Linked DNA regions of Homo sapiens: all the other regions are linked to region 2. Evidence: promoter capture Hi-C in human tissues and cell types (Jung and others, 2019). All regions are on one chromosome and are shown on one strand. The core of a region is centred on a gene start or on the middle of the fragment in contact, and the rest is flanking DNA. Distances in the headings are between cores, read along the strand shown. Region 1 has its middle 36 kb from the start of NORAD. Region 2 holds the start of SPAG4 (sperm associated antigen 4). Region 3 overlaps UQCC1 (ubiquinol-cytochrome c reductase complex assembly factor 1).

Evidence for each region. Contacts are between HindIII fragments. The study calls those that stand out against the background at their distance.
Region 1: a contact is called between a fragment that was not itself captured here and the fragment with the promoter of SPAG4 in region 2, in 2 of the 25 tissues and cell types used here (aorta and dorsolateral prefrontal cortex).
Region 3: a fragment that was not itself captured here is called in contact with the fragment with the promoter of SPAG4 in region 2 in 1 of the 25 tissues and cell types used here (bladder).

What each region holds. Positions count from the first base shown.
Region 1 is chr20:36,085,555-36,088,633 of GRCh38, reverse strand. No RefSeq gene overlaps it. Among named protein-coding and RNA genes, the nearest start is that of NORAD, 36 kb to the right of the region's middle. The HindIII fragment of the contact is 7,451 bases long and covers 1-3,079 here.
Region 2 is chr20:35,614,017-35,617,140 of GRCh38, reverse strand. It overlaps SPAG4 (sperm associated antigen 4), which reads right to left and starts at 1,312. Exons shown (of 12, transcript NM_003116.3): 1 at 834-1,312; 2 at 1-5. The coding sequence starts at 1,137. RefSeq lists an enhancer at 1-106 and a silencer at 537-1,266. The HindIII fragment of the contact is 21,465 bases long and covers 1-3,124 here.
Region 3 is chr20:35,319,781-35,323,266 of GRCh38, reverse strand. All of the region lies in intron 7 of UQCC1 (ubiquinol-cytochrome c reductase complex assembly factor 1), which reads left to right. Among named protein-coding and RNA genes, the nearest start is that of FAM83C, 29 kb to the right of the region's middle. The HindIII fragment of the contact is 3,522 bases long and covers 257-3,486 here.

The DNA.
Region 1 (3,079 bases), core at 179-2,678, 470 kb before region 2:
GCACATGCCTGTAATCCCAACTATTTGGGAGGCTGAATGTCTTGAATCTGGGAGGTGGAGGTTGCAGTGAGCCAAGATCACACCACTGCGCTCCAGCCTAGGCAGCAAGAGTGAAACTCTGTCTAAAAAAAAAAAAAAACAAAAAGGGGCCAAGTGTGATGGCTCACACCTGTAATCCCAGCACTTTGGGAGGCCGAGGCAGGCAGATCACCTGAGGCCAGGAGTTTGAGACCAACCTGGCCAGCATGGTGAAACCCTGTCTCTACTAACAACACAAAAAAATTAGCCAGGCTTGGTGGCTCATGCCTGTAAGTCCCAGCTACTCGGGAGGCTGAGACATGAGAATTGCTGAACCTGGGAGGCGGAGGTTGCAGTGAGCTGAGATTGTACCACTGCACTCTAGCCTGGGCAACACAGTGAGACTCGGTCTCAAAAAAAAAAAAAAAAAAAAGAGAATTCCATCACATCACCTCCAGTGGGGGGATATCCAGGAAGACAATTTCAGCTCACTATAAAGAACTCCCTAACAGTTGGAGCTACCCAAGAATGGAATGGACCACCTTGGGAGTGATGAACTCCTTGTCAATATATGTATTCAAGGAAAGATTAAGTCTTCATTGGGAAATTGAACTAGGATCCTGGTGACCTCTCAAGTTGAAAAAATGGGCAAGTTCTATTAGGAAGGGAAAGACAAGATCAAAGCTGTGCTTCCAGACAATTATGTGACTGTATGTGTAGAAGAAATGGGTGGGGAGGGATCAGAGGCAGGCAGGACCAGTAGGAAACCACTGCAGTGGTCCAGGAGATAAAAGAATAGACTGGGGCTGGGCACGGTGATTCATGCCTGTAATCCCAGCACTTTGGGAGGCCGAGGAGGGTGGATCACAAGGTCAGGAGTTCAAGACCAGCCTGGCAAACATGGTGAAACCCTGTCTCTACTAAAAATACAAAAAAATTAGCCAGGCATGGTGGTGGGTGCCTGTAATCCCAGCCACTTGGGAGGCTGAGGCAGAGAATTGCTTGAACCCGGGAGGCGGAGGTTGCAGTGAGCCGAGATCACACCACTGCACTCCAGCCTGGGCGACAGAGCGAAACTCGTCTCAAAACAAAACAAAACAAAACAAAAAACAAAAAAAAAGAATAGACTGGGAGGCCATGGGAATGGAAAGCCAATGCAAGTGTGACTTGAAAGAGGCACTGGCACTAGGCTGGTAGTCAGGAGCTGCAGGTTCTAGTCCTGCCCCTGCCATTAACTTATTGTGTAGTCTCAGGTAAATCCCAGCCCTTGAGTAGATCCCTTCCTTTATTCAAATTTCAGAGATCCCATCTGTAAAATGCAGAATGATCTGCAATATCCTTCCTAACTCTGGATTCTGTGAATGGGAGAGAGATAATGAAGGATAACTGGGATGATGTATTAGAAAGCCTTCATACACTTCAAAGTAATAATATCATTAGTACAAGTACCATTGTTATTATTATTTCAAAGGCAGCCTCACCAGAACGTGGTGACTGGACTGGTAGGAGGGGACAGGACAGAGTCAAGTGGCCTGCATCTGTGGGTGGACAAGACACCAGGATCTCTGATCTTTTGGGAAGGTCAGCTAACCACTGTATCCCTCCCCCAAGATCTGTGAAGACAAACAGTATTCTGTGCCCTGTCACCTCATTAACTGCTTCCTCATTCCTTTGAGCCACACCTTATACTTGGCTAAAAGAAGCAACCAATTCTAAGAAAAGTTAGCCTCTGTACTCCCTCCTTTCAATGTTCAAAAATGGGTCCTCGTCTGGGACTTTCCCTATATAATAATAAGTTTCATCATCTCATATAGGAATAGCCAACATTATTGAGTACTTAGTATATGTTAGGAAATTTATTTACATAATTTTCTCACCCTGGGAGGTAGCTGTAATGGCTTATGAAGATCTATAACTTTCTCAGTCACATAGCTTATGAGAAGGATTCCAGTACAAGTCTGTGCGATTTCAAGGCTGCATTCTTAAAGATTTTTTTTTTTTTTTTTTTTTGAAATGGAGTCTTGCTCCATCACCCTGGCTGGAGTGCAGTAGCACTATCTTTGCCCACTGCAACCTCCATCTCCCGGGTTCAAGCGATTCTCATGTCTCAGCCTCCCAAGTAGCTGGGATTACAGGTGCCTGCCACCATGCCTGGCTAATTTTTGTATTTTTAGTAGAGATGGGGTTTCACCATGTTGGCCAGGCTGGTCTCGAACTCTTAACCTCAGGTGATCTGCCTGCCTCAGCCTCCCAAAGTGCTGAGATTACAGCCGTGAGCCACCCTGCCCGGCACCCTAAAGATTTTTACTATGTCTTTTTGTAGCAACTTAGGGAGGAGGGCAAGATCAGTGTTGTTGCCACTTTATAGCTGGGGAAACTGAAGCTCAGAGAAGGTAAATTCTGTCATTTGGACAAATTAGTAAAGTCTTCTATGGTGCAGTTTGGTGCTGTTTCTACTTCTCAGAGCTTCCTCCTCTGCACCTTCCAGGACCTCCCCAGTCCTCCTAGGAGTGATGAGTAGAGACTTGCCCAGACTACTTAAGGGAAGGACTTACACTTGTCCTTCTCCTGGGGAAGGGAAAGGTTCCTGAAAGGTGAAAGTTAATTTCCACCTCCCCTCCCCACCCACCAACTCACACACCCTAAACCAGGACCTTGTGGTGACCCGCGCTGAAGGCTTACAGAGTGAGTCATGCGGGGCTGACCTGTCAGAGTCACCCAAGCACAAGATACTAAGCTTAGTTTAGAGGGGTGGAAAAGTAGGCAAAGTGCTCTCATCCTCAGGAGCACAGTCCACTTGCAGCTTGTGCCCCTCACTCCTTTCATCCCAAAATACTGCAAACATTTGGGAACACTGTACAAGGGCCTTAGAGCAGAGGGAACACATGACAAATAAGAGTGAGTCCAAGGAGTTGAGATTGGAGTGGAGCCTTAAAGAGTGAATTCAGCACACAAATTAGGTAGAAGGGCCCTCCAGGCTGCAGGAATGCCCTAAAGCTTAAATATATTTGGATTCCATCTAACAGGCAGTAGGGAGCCATGGAGTTCACTATGGCTTTGG
Region 2 (3,124 bases), core at 63-2,562:
CGGTTCTGCGGGAACCCAAGGGCTCCACTGGGGCCTTGCGGACCACAGACCTATTTTCCCCTCGAGACCGGGCCGCAGATTGCTCAGTCCACAAGCCAGACAGCTGGGAAGTCTCTCACAGGCTTTGGTCCCACCGCAGCCCTATCCCGGCTCCAGCTCCGCCCTCTGAAGCCCCGCCCCTCAGGGAGGCTCCGTCAAGAGTTGGTCTCCTGGCCGGGCGCGGTGGCTCACGCCTGTAATCCCAGCGATTTGGGAGGCCGAGGCGGGCGGATCACCTGAGGTCGGGAGTTCGAGGCCAGCCTGATTAACACGGAGAAACCCCGTCTCTACTAAAAACACAAAAATTGGCCGGGCATGGTGGCGCACGCCTGTAATCCCAGCTACTCGGGAGGCTGAGGCGGGAGAATCGTTTGAACCCGGGAGGCGGAGGTTGCGGTGAGCCGAGATCATGCCATTGCATGGCATGGGCAACAGGAGCGAAACTCCGTTGCAAAAAAAAAAAAAAAAGAGTTGGTCCCTCCCCCAAACGGATGACCCGCCCCCAGCCTTAGATCTTGGTGGAACCCAATTGTCCTGGGAGCCACTCACGCTAACATTGAGGCCGCGCCCCCTCAGTGGCACCCAACCACAAGATTTTCCCCGCCCCTTCCCATAACCGTCCAGGACACCGAGGCTCCGCCCCTTAAGGGATCTCATTTAGCACCATCCCTTTACCCTACAGGACCCACCTTGTAGGAGGTGCCCAGATATCATCTTAGCCCCGTCCCCGCCCAGCACCGCCCTTTAGGCCCCGCCCCCTCCACTGGCTCACCCGGGGTCGACCCCGCCCGCACCCGAGGCCCCGCCCCTCACGGTTGCCGCGCCACAGGCTGTCTGCCAGTTGTGGCTCCGAGGCGCTGGCTTCTGCTGAGAGCTTCCTGCCCATGTGGTTCCTCCGGGCACTCCCGCGCTCAAGGCGGGCTCACCGCAGCTCGGGCCCCGGGCTCTTCTGCCCTCGGGCTCCCCAGGCCCGGGCTCCGCTGACCGGAGCCCTTTGCTGTCCTCCGAGGTGATGCTCATTGAGCTGTTCTCGCTGAAAAAGTTGGGCGTGTGCTTGCGCGAGGACGAGGCCGAGCCCGGGCGGGAGCTTCGCCGCATCCTGACCCCCTGCTGCCTAGTCACTGACGCTAAAGCCGCCGCTGCGGTCGCCAAGGCCCTGGGGCCTCCTTCAGCCGCTGCGCGCCGCGGGGACCCCACGGACCCTGCGTGAAGTCGGCAGGCCCCGCGGCCGCACCTGCCCTCCCGCTGTGTCCCGGCCGGCTGCTGACGTCACAGAGGAGCCTCGGTCTCCGCGGGCTGCCCTGGCCGCGCGTCACGGAGCTGGCCGTGACGTCACCTGGAGCCGTAGCCATGGCAGCCTCTCCTTCTGACTTTGTTGTTGTTTAAGAGACAGGGTCTTTCTCATTGCCCAGGCTGGAGTGCAGTGGCCTGATCATAGCTCATTGTAACTTCGAACTCCTAGGCTCAAGCGATCCTCCCGCCTCGGCCTCCCAAAGCGCTGGGAGTACAGGCGTCAGCCACCGCGCCCGGCCTCTTTTACAGCAAGCGATGATGTCACAGCACTTCCCAGAAAACCCCATCTAAAATGGCACTCAGTCTATAACAGTTTTTTTCTTTCTTTCTTTCTTTCTTTCTTTCTTTCTTTCTTTCTTTCTTTCTTTCTTTCTTTCTTTCTTTTTTTTTTTTTTTTGAGATGGAGTCTCATTCTGTTGCCCAGGCTGGAGTGCAATGGCGCGATCTTGGTCCACTGCAACCTCCGCCTCCCGGGTTCAAGCGATTCTCCCGCCTCAGCCTCCTGAGTGGCTGGGATTACAGACATGCACCACCATGCCTGGCTAATTTTGTATTTTTAGTAGAGACGGGGTTTCTCCATGTTAGTCAGGCTGGTCTTGAACTCCCGATCTCAGGTGATCCACCCGCCCCGGCCTCCTAAAGTGCTGGGATTACAGGCATGAGCCACTGCGCCCAGCATTTTTATTTTTATTTTATTTTTATTTTTTGAGACAGAGTCCTGCTGTGTCGCCCAGGCTGGAGGGCAGTAGTGCAATCTCGGCTCAGTGCAACCTCCGCCTCCCGGGTTCAAGCGATTCTCCTGCCTCAGCCTCCCGAGTAGTTGGGATTACAGACACCCGCCATCATGCCTGGCTAATTTTTGTATTTTTGTAGAGACGGGGTTTTACCATGTTGGCCAGGCTGGTCGTGAACTCCTGACCTCAGGTTATCCGCCTGCCTGGGGCTCCCAAAGTGCTGGGATTACAGGAGTCAGCTACTGCGCCTGGCCTCTTTTAAAGCAAGTGATGACGTCACAGCACTTCCTAGAAAACCCCATCTAAAATTGCACTTAGCAAATACCAGTTTCTATCCCCCTTCCCTGTTTTGTTTTTCTCCTCAGCACGTGTCACTAACATGCTATATATTTCATTTCTCTCTTTCTTTGAGATGGAGTCTCGCTCTGTTGCCCAGGCTGGAGTGCAGTGGCATGATCTCAGCTCACTGCAACCTCCATCTCCCGGCCTCAAGCAATCCTCCCGCCTCAGCCTCCCGAGTAGCTGGGACTACAGGCTTGCGCCACCACACCCAGCTAATTTTTGTATTTTTTGTAGAGATGGGGTCTCGCTATGTTGCCCAGGCTGGTCTTCAACTCCTGAGCTTGAGTGATCCACCCACTTCTGCCTCCCAAAGTGCTGGGATTACAGATGTGAGCCACCATGCCTGGCCCATTTATTTATTTCCTTATTGCCTGCCATGCCCACTAGAACATAAACTTAATCAGGGCACAGATTTTCATTCACTACTGTATCCTCCAGCACCTAGATAAGCCTAGCATGTAGTAGGTGCTCAAATATTTGCAAATAATGAATGTTAAGAAGGAGCAGGGCATCACTCAGGGCACTTCTAAATACTTAGTCCCCTTTGCTCTGCAAGCCCTTCAGCCCCCTCCTCTCATCCTAGACATCAGGTCAGAGAGCTCATTCAGGATCTGTGGGTCCCTCCTCCAGACCCATTTTTCCCAGGGGTCTGTGGGTTGAGAATTCAGCACCCACCAATCGTCATACCCACACTCAGGCTGCACACCTGAGCCATG
Region 3 (3,486 bases), core at 768-3,267, 290 kb after region 2:
CTTGCTTTCCAAAGTGCAGAAATGAGCAATTTTAGCTTTGTGCTTGTGTGATTCTTCCATTTCTCATATGACTCATCAGAAGCAGAAAGGTGTGATCGCTTAGAAAAGACAGTAGATTGGGGCCGGGCGCGGTGGCTCACGCCTGCAATCCCAGCACTTTGGGAGGCTGAGGCAGGCGGATCACAAGGTCAGGAGGTCAAGACCATGCTGGCTAACACGGTGAAACCCCGTCTCTACTAAAAATACAAAAAATTAGCCGGGCATGGTGGTAGGCGCCTGTAGTCCCAGCTACTCAGGAGGCTGAGGCAGGAGAATGGCGTGAACCCGGGAGGCGGAGCTTGCAGTGAGCCGAGATGGTCCCACTGCACTCCAGCCTGGGTGACAGAGCAAGACTCCGTCTCAAAAAAAAGAAAAGACAGTAGATTTAGAGACTGACCATCTGAGTTAAAAGTCCCAGCACTGTCACTTACAAGCAGGATGTGATTTGACTACAAGTGACTTAACGTTTTTGTTTTTGTTTTTGTTTTTGTTTTTTGAGACAGAGTCTTGCTCAGTTGCCAGGCTGGAGTGCAGTGGCACAATCTTGGCTCACTGCAACTTCTGCCTCTCGGGTTCAATGGTTCCCCCGCCTCAGCCTCCTGAGTAGCTGGGACTACAGGTATGCGCCACTATGCCCAGCTAATTTTTTGTATTTTAGTAGACATGGGGTTTCACTATGTTGGCCAGGCTGGTCTCGAACTCCCGACCTCAGGTTATCGGCCCACCTCAGCCTCCCAGAGTGCTGAGATTACAGGCGTGAGCCACCGCACCTGGCCACTTAACAGTTTTGAGCTTCTGTTTCCTTGTTTATAGAATCAGGACAACAATAGCATTTTGGCTGTGAGCTCCTCGAGGGCAGGGTTGTGGTTGTGAGGCACAAATAAGATAATAAAATGAAAATATTATTAAATGCATTGTGTAATCATTGTTACGACCATCACTGTCATCATTATTATCAGTACGGATTTTAGATAGTACCCAGGATTATTTCCTTTAGGACTCCGCACCATCAGTGCTGTTGTTGAAACTGCGACTCTTTCAAGCCAGGTGTTGGCTTCTCTAATGAGTATGCATGAGACTTGTCATGTGGAATACTACAAAAAGCTTCCAGAAACCAAAGTAGATTATAGCTATAATGTTCCCCTTATTCAAATGCCCTAAAAGAGACGAAAGTTAAATTGCCATGGTAGTTTGATCATCCCAGAACCGTAGTGTACCTCATCAGCTCCTTTTGAAGATGATTGTGGACTTAATATTATGTGTTCTCATGTTTTCTCAACTGGACAAATGACTAGAATTTCTGAGGACATACATCTCTTCTCTCTTGGCTATTTTCCAAGCCTGAGGGAAGGACTCCTGTACTTCGTGACTATATAGAAATTAGGGCTGCTGGTTCTGCAATTCTGTCTGCCAACCATGTCCCTTGTTTTTCAGCACATTATCAGGCTATGCAGTCTTGAACATGTAGATCCCAAGCAGCAAAACTAGAATTTTCAAAATAAATAAGAAAGGGGTTTGTATTATTATTACTATGTTGTAGAGACAGGACCTCACTTTTTTGTCCAGGCTAGTCTTGAACTCCTGGCCTCAAGTGATCCACCTGCCTTGGCCTCACAAAGCATGGGGATTATACACGTAAGCCACCTTGCCCAGCCAATAAGGGAATATTTTTAAACAGCATGTCATCATAGCAAGCTTCCCTTGTACATTAAAAGTTTGAAATGTTTAAAATGGATTTTAAAATGGACCTCCTCATGCTGGGTTTAGGTTGGCCTTTCATCGCAACGGGAACATACTCTATTTAAATGTTCACATTATTTTCTAAAAAGAGAAAAAGAAATTGTCTTTCATTTAAAATATTTTTCTTTTTATTCTTGGTATTAACAACTTTTTCTGGAACTGCTCAATATGCATGCGTGCCTGAGCGTGCGCGCGCGCGCGCGCACACACACACACACACACACACACACACACAGTTTTGTTTGTATTTTGTCATCATTGCTAAAAGACCCTCAATAGATCTTTCAGTCGTAATGCATGTGAGTTAACAGGTAGACTTTTTTATTTGGTCTCTCCATGTCCCCCGTCTCTCTTGTCTGTCTACTCTTACTCTGTTTCTAAGTATCTCACAAAATATTCCACAGTGGGCTAATTTCTAACCTGAACTTTAAATAGGCTAGCTGATGTTCAGTGCACATCAGCCTGTTGCCGCACAATGACTGTAGAACATGGCGTTGGCACTGCAAAGCATTGGTGGTGGCATTACTGTCTACTACAGCAAACTAAAACATGACCTACAATCTTGTGTTGCATTGTTGCCTTATGATGAATTTGATATAGTCCTTAGGCTTCAGCCAGCAACTCTAGCTGTCCTTTGTCATTCATTCATTCCAGCAAATTCTTAGTCTGCTACTGTTAGCAACTTTGCTTCAAGCCAGTAACCTTAAAGCTTATTCTCACCTTCATGCTCATCAGTGTTTTCCATACCAACTTTCTTCTGTTTTCCCATTCCCCCACCATAATTACACCCACTCTCAACCTCAGGTTTTCCCAGGAGTGGAGCTTGGCTCTACTAGGGATATCTGATGTATTAGTAACCGGCCACTGATGACCCATCTGGTGGCTGTCTCTAGCTGCCACTGGAACTGGAATCTCTGAGTTGTGTTTACTCAAGACCACATTAGCATTTCTTAGTTCTGCCTCTGCAGATAGCCTGAGCTGTGGGGCACAGGAAGGGGCAGCTACATTCCTTCCAGTGTCTATTCCAACACAGGTAGGCAATGGAGTTGGATTGCTCTGTATTCTTATCTTGACCCCACTATTTCCTAGCTGTCTAGCTTTAACTTTCCCAAACATCAGATTCCTCTTCTCTAAAGTGGAGACAGTAACAGTTCCTGTCTCTTAGAGTCCTTGGGAAGGTTTAAGTGGGCTAATGTGTAAAGTTGTAGCACAGTTATTGGCACTTGGTAAATAATGAATGATGGGACCCGTCTCCAGACTTGAATCACTTTGGGGCACCTGTAGATGGGGGAGAGGGCAGACTTAGTAGAGAAAATATGTGTGCTAAGTCTTAGAGGATAAGGAGTTAGCATCCCTTCCATCAGTGGATAAAGAAGAGAAGAATTCCTGGCAGCAGTATGACTAAGAAATAGATGACAGCATGATGTATCTGTGCACATACTTTACTGACTGCAGGGTGAAGTAAGATGGGGAGGCAAGAGGAGGGGAGGCAAAAAAGATGGCCAAGAGCAGATCACTAGAAGCCTTGTAGAGTCCATGGAGGAGTTAAAACTTGATCTCCCATCAGTCCCTGTATCCACATAGTCTGGTTCCTCTGTTAAGCAGTCACATAAATATCTTTAAGGCAGCAACAGTGAAAAGGGGAAAGAGAGCAGCGAATTGGCCTCAAATGAACTGGCATCTCTTTAAAGCTAATATTCCTCCTTG